Linked DNA regions of Homo sapiens: region 2 is linked to region 1. Evidence: promoter capture Hi-C in human tissues and cell types (Jung and others, 2019). All regions are on one chromosome and are shown on one strand. Each heading gives the region's core, a stretch centred on a gene start or on the middle of the fragment in contact. The rest is flanking DNA. Distances are from core to core; before and after follow the strand shown. Region 1 holds the start of ZNF578 (zinc finger protein 578). Region 2 overlaps LOC122539214 (Zinc finger protein LOC122539214).

Evidence for each region. Contacts are between HindIII fragments. The study calls those that stand out against the background at their distance.
Region 2: a fragment that was not itself captured here is called in contact with the fragment with the promoter of ZNF578 in region 1 in 2 of the 25 tissues and cell types used here (liver and small bowel).

The regions. Positions count from the first base shown.
Region 1 is chr19:52,452,135-52,454,834 of GRCh38, reverse strand. ZNF578 (zinc finger protein 578) reads right to left here and starts at 1,282. Exons shown (of 6, transcript NM_001099694.2): 1 at 1,228-1,282. It also overlaps a transcript of ZNF534 not described here and the pseudogene LOC441862. RefSeq lists an enhancer at 641-1,840. The HindIII fragment of the contact is 17,654 bases long and covers 1-2,700 here.
Region 2 is chr19:52,652,608-52,655,388 of GRCh38, reverse strand. It overlaps LOC122539214 (Zinc finger protein LOC122539214), which reads left to right. Exons shown (of 4, transcript NM_001396016.1): 4 at 986-2,781. The coding sequence ends at 2,721. It also overlaps a transcript of ZNF83 not described here. Among named protein-coding and RNA genes, the nearest start is that of ZNF83, 16 kb to the right of the region's middle. The HindIII fragment of the contact is 5,670 bases long and covers 1-2,781 here.

The sequences.
Region 1 (2,700 bases), core at 33-2,532:
CCTGGGAATCCTAAAATTTAACTCAATTCTTACACTATCTACAAGGAGATAGTGTCAGATCCCATGGGTGAAAAGCTCAGTCCCACAAGACTACCCTTCACCTTAGAAGCTGTACACAAGTAGTAGTTTTCACCTCTACTTCTGACTGACCAGATAAACACCACGGTTCCCAAATCCTCTCCTGCATTCAACTAATTTTCTAGAACTGCTATTCCATCTGTCTATCTGCAACCTTTGTAATATCCTTTAAAACAAATGAGTAAACCCAACTAAAACGTTTCTGAGTTCTGTGAGCTACTCTGGCAAATTAATAAATACTGAAGACTGGGTCATGGGAATCCTCAATTTATATCCAGTAGCTTAGAAGTTCAGGTTCCAATCTGGGACTTGTAACCGACATCTGAAGTGGAGAAGTCTTGTGGACTGAGCCTTTAATCTGTGGGATCCGATGCTTACACCAGGTACAGCTGTCAGAAGTGAGGTAAATTATGGGACACCGAGTTGATGTCTGATAGAGAACTGCTTGTTAGTGGGGAGAAATCCCCACACATTCGGTGACCACAAGTGAAGTATTCTGGGTTCAGTGTTTACTACCGTGTTGAGTTTCAGAGGAGGAAAGAATAAATCAATCGTTTTTCCTCTGGAAGAGCACATTTTCCAGCGGGTGCAATTTGGAACGGAAAAACACTGAGTGTCAAAAGCCAGGCCCCGTCACCTCCCTCAATGCGGGGTAAGGAATGTGGGTTGTGAAGGGGAAACCTGGGGAACACAAGGGCCCAGCCCAAGGAGGACAAGGTTGGGGGTGGATTAGGAGAGGGGTGGGGTTTCCAAAATCCCAGGGCCGGGCAGAGGACACGGCGCTGATGCATCGAGACTGCGGGACCGAGCTCCAAGAGGCCAGAAGGGCGAGGCTTGGAGGACCCACTGGGCGTGAATACACCTCATGGGTGAGGGCTTTTACATGACGCGGGACCGAAGGAGTGGTCAGTAAAGGGTTTTAAGCAGGTAAACGGGACGAAAAGCGTCTACGTGGCCCGAAGGCAGAGAGCTCAGGGAAAGGACCAGCAGCCTCCAAGCGATTTTAACCTCCGAATTTCTTGGCGACGTATTAATATACCTAGGATGGAGGGAACGGCGGGAGGATTTTAAGATCCGTAAGAACCCCTCCGCCAACACCAGGTACAGAAGCGCTGGAAGCGGATCTAATCTAGACAAAGGGAAACTCACCCGCTGCTCCAAGACCGGCTCCCCACGCGATCGGCTTCCGGGTCTTCAGGAAACTGCGCTTGCGAGTTCACGCCCCATGATTCACTTCCGGGTTTCCAGGAAACCGCGCGCAGCTGAGGCCAGGGATGGGCGAGACCCGAGAGAAGAGAGGGTGGGGCGGTGAGGGGCGGGGTCTGCGCTGCCTTCGGCCTGTCTCTGGGCGCGTCTGTTCTCCAGGTTTTTGAGGAAAGACCCTATCGGTGACCAGCAGCCAAGCAGTCTGGGACCTGGGATCTCTATGAGAGGGTCAAAGTAGGGGACAGTGATTGGACCTAAGATAGTTCCTGCAATTAAAGTTAATTTTAGTATTTTAATTTAAAAGCCCTGGAATTGTCTGGGAGAGGAAGCGAACTAGAATATGAAATGCAAAGCCCTGCCTGGGCGGAACATGCAATTTGATGCTGTCGTCCCACAGAACAGAGTAGAAATCCTCTCCTTTTCTATTCCCCCTACACTCTGGAGGGTGAGGATCAACCCTGTGCTCAGCTCCTGACAATTTCCCAGGGACAACGCCTTGGGCATGGAGGGTTAACGCCAGGGATAAGTTAGGTCACCAAATGTTGCTTTTAAAAAGGAAAGCTAAAACTTTTAGATGATAGATATAAATGACTCTTAAACTTTTAAACAATAGATATAAATAGCTCTCCCTTATACCTGTTACTCTATTCCAAACTTCAGATGAATTAACCTCAAACGTCTCTGCGATAAACTTTATTGACATCATAATGTCAATAATTTCGATACGTAGAGTGAATTTCAAATTTACACGCACTCTGAATGTAAATAGAAAAGACGATTTTTGGCTGGGTGTGTTGGCTCATGTTTCTAATCCTAGCACTTTGGGAGGCTGAGATGGGAGGATCACTTGAGGCTAAATGTTCAAGACTAGCCTGGGCAACAGAGTGAGTCCCAGTCTCTCTTATAAAACACACAGGGCCAGGCACGTTGGCTCACGCCTGTAATCCCAGCACTTTGCGAGGCCGAGGCGGGCGGATCACCTGAGGTTGGGAGTTGGAGACCAGCCTGACCAACATGGAGAAATCCTGTGTCTTCTAAAAATACAAAATTAGCCGGGCGTGGTGGCGCATGCCTGTAATCCCAGTTACTCGGGAGGCTGAGGCAGGAGAATTGCTTGAACCCAGGAGTTGGAAGGTGCGGTGAGCAGAGATCGGGCCATTGCCATCCAGCCTGGGCAACAAGAGTGAAATTCCGTCTCCAAAAAAACAAAACAAAAAAAAGAAAACACACACACGCACAAAACAAAAACAAACTTTTTTTTTTAAGTTGCTGAAGGGGTATCATTTCTTGAGTTAAATAATACAGGATTTTTTTTTTAATCTGTAATTGATGTACATTTAAGAAGACACTGTTTACATCAGGTCACCACAAAGTAGATTTACAAATAACCATCAACTGCAGAAAAACAAAGTTTCT
Region 2 (2,781 bases), core at 77-2,576, 200 kb before region 1:
CTATGGAGTGGTTTTACATAAAAACAGAACATTCATGAACACTTTGACTAATAGAATTGAACGTCATCCTGCTCTAAGCAGAGATGCCCCTGGTAGCCCTGAGCAGAATTGTCAGGGTGGCCCAGGAGATGAGCTAGAAAGCATGACAGTGACTGACAAGTGTTTCCAGCTGTGATTCTGCTTTTGTTTTGTTTTGTTTTTTGAGACAGAGTCTCCCTCTCTTGCTCAGGCTGGAGTGCACTGTTGTGATCTCAGCTCATTGCAACCTCCGCCTCCTGCATTCAAGCAATTCTCATACCTCAGCCTCCCAACCTAACTGGAATTACAGATGCAAGTCACCATGCCTTGCTAATTTTTGTATTTTTATTAGAGATGGGGAATCACCATGTTGGCCAGGCTGGTCTCAAACTCCTTGTCTCAAGCAATCTGCCCACCTCAGCCTCTAGCCAAGTGTTGGGATTACAAACCTGAGCCACCACCCTTGGCCTTTTGTTCTGGTTTTTAAGGAGCATCACAGAAGCATCTCTCACTGGTACTGTGACAGTGATCATCACATAAACTAATGATCATGTTCTCTAAACAGCAGTCACTGCTGTAGAAATTCCTCTTAGGGAGGACATCATTCAGGCTTACTGCATCATATATATGAGGCTCTTGACTGAACTCTGTTTGACATGGAATTTTGCTCTTGTTGCCCAGGCTGGAGTGCAATGATGTGATCTCTGTTCACTGCAATCTCTGCCTCCTAGGTTCAAGAAATTCTCCTGCCTCAGCGTCCTGAGTAGCTGGGATTACAGGCATCCACCACCATGCCTGGCTAATTTTTGTATTTTTAATAGAGACAGGGTGTTCTTAAACTTTGAAGATCATATTTGGGAATTTTAAAATAAGTATTGCTTTTTGTGTAATATTAACACATTTCAGTATTAAATATTATTTACCATCTGTACTTAATTGGAAACCTATTGGTCTTTATATTTTTTAGATAGCTCTTTAAAATCCATGACGGAGTTCTCATCAACAGGGCACGGTAATACAGGAGAAGTGATCCACACAGGGACATTGCAAAGACATAAAAGTCATCACATTGGAGATTTTTGCTTCCCAGAAATCAAGAAAGATATTCATGACTTTGAGTTTCAGTGGCAAGAAATTAAAAGAAATGGCCATGAAGCACCCATGACAAAAATCAAAAAGTTGACTGGTAGTACAGACCGACGTGATCAAAGGCATGCTGGAAACAAGCCTATTAAAGATCAGCTTGGATCAAGCTTTTATTCACATCTGCCTGAACTGCACGAATTTCAGACTGAAGGGAAAATTGATAATCAAGTGGAGAAGTCTATCAACAATGCTTCCTTGGTTTCAACATCCCAAAGAATTTCTTGTAGGCTCAAAACCCATATTTCTAATAGGTATGGGAAGAACTTTCTCCATTCTTCATTATTGACACAAATCCAGGAAGAACACATGAGAGAAAAACCTTTCCAATGTAATGAGTGTGGCAAAGCCTTTAATTATAGCTCACATTTAAGAAGACATCATGTAACCCATTCAGGAGAGAAACAATATAAATGTGATGTATGTGGCAAAGTGTTTCATCAAAAGCAATACCTTGCATGGCACCATAGAGTTCATACTGGAGAAAAACCTTACAAGTGTAATGAGTGTTCCAAGACCTTCGGTCACAAGTCATCTCTTACACGCCATCATAGACTTCATACTGGAGAAAAACCTTACAAGTGTAATGAGTGTGGTAAGACCTTCAGTCAGACGTCATCCCTTGTAGGGCATCGTAGACGTCATACTGGAGAGAAACCTTACAAATGTGAAGGATGTGACAAAGTTTACAGTTGCAGATCACAACTTGAAACACATAGGCGAATTCATACTGGAGAGAAACCATACAAATGTAAGGTTTGTGACAAAGCTTTTAGGCATAATTCATGCCTTTCACGCCATAACAGAGTTCATACTGAAGAGAAACCTTACACATGTAATGAATGTGGCAAGGTTTTCCAGCGTGATTCATACCTTGCACAACATCAGAGAGTTCATACTGGAGAGAAACCTTACACATGTAATGAATGTGGTAAGGTTTTTAATCAAAAAGCACACCTTGCATGTCATTATAGGCTTCATACTGGAGAGAAACCTTACAAGTGTAATGAGTGTGGCAAGACCTTCAGTCAGAAGTCATCCCTTGTGGGCCATCGTAGACTTCATACCGGAGAAAAACCTTACAACTGTCATGAGTGTGGCAAGACCTTTGCTCGAAATTCATCCCTTCTAATTCATAAGGCAATTCATACTGGAGAGAAACCTTACAAGTGTAATGAATGTGGCAAGGTTTTTAATCAACAGTCAAACCTTGCACAACATCAGAGAGTTCATACTGGAGAGAAACCTTACAGGTGTAATGAGTGTGGCAAGACCTTCAGTCATATGTCATCCTTTGTATACCATTATAGACTTCATAGTGGAGAGAAACCTTACAAGTGCAATGAGTGTGGCAAGACCTTCAGTCATATGTCATCCTTTGTATGCCATCATAGACTTCATACTGGAGAAAATCCTTATAAGTGCAATGAGTGTGGCAAAGCCTTTAGTGGGCAGTCATCACTTATTCATCATCAAGCAATCCATGGTATAGGGAAACTTTACAAATGTAATGATTCTCACAAAGTCCTCAGTAATGCTACAAGCATTGCAAATCATTAGAGAATCCATAATGAAGAGAGATCTTACAAGTGTAGTAAATGTGGCAGATATTTCAGACAT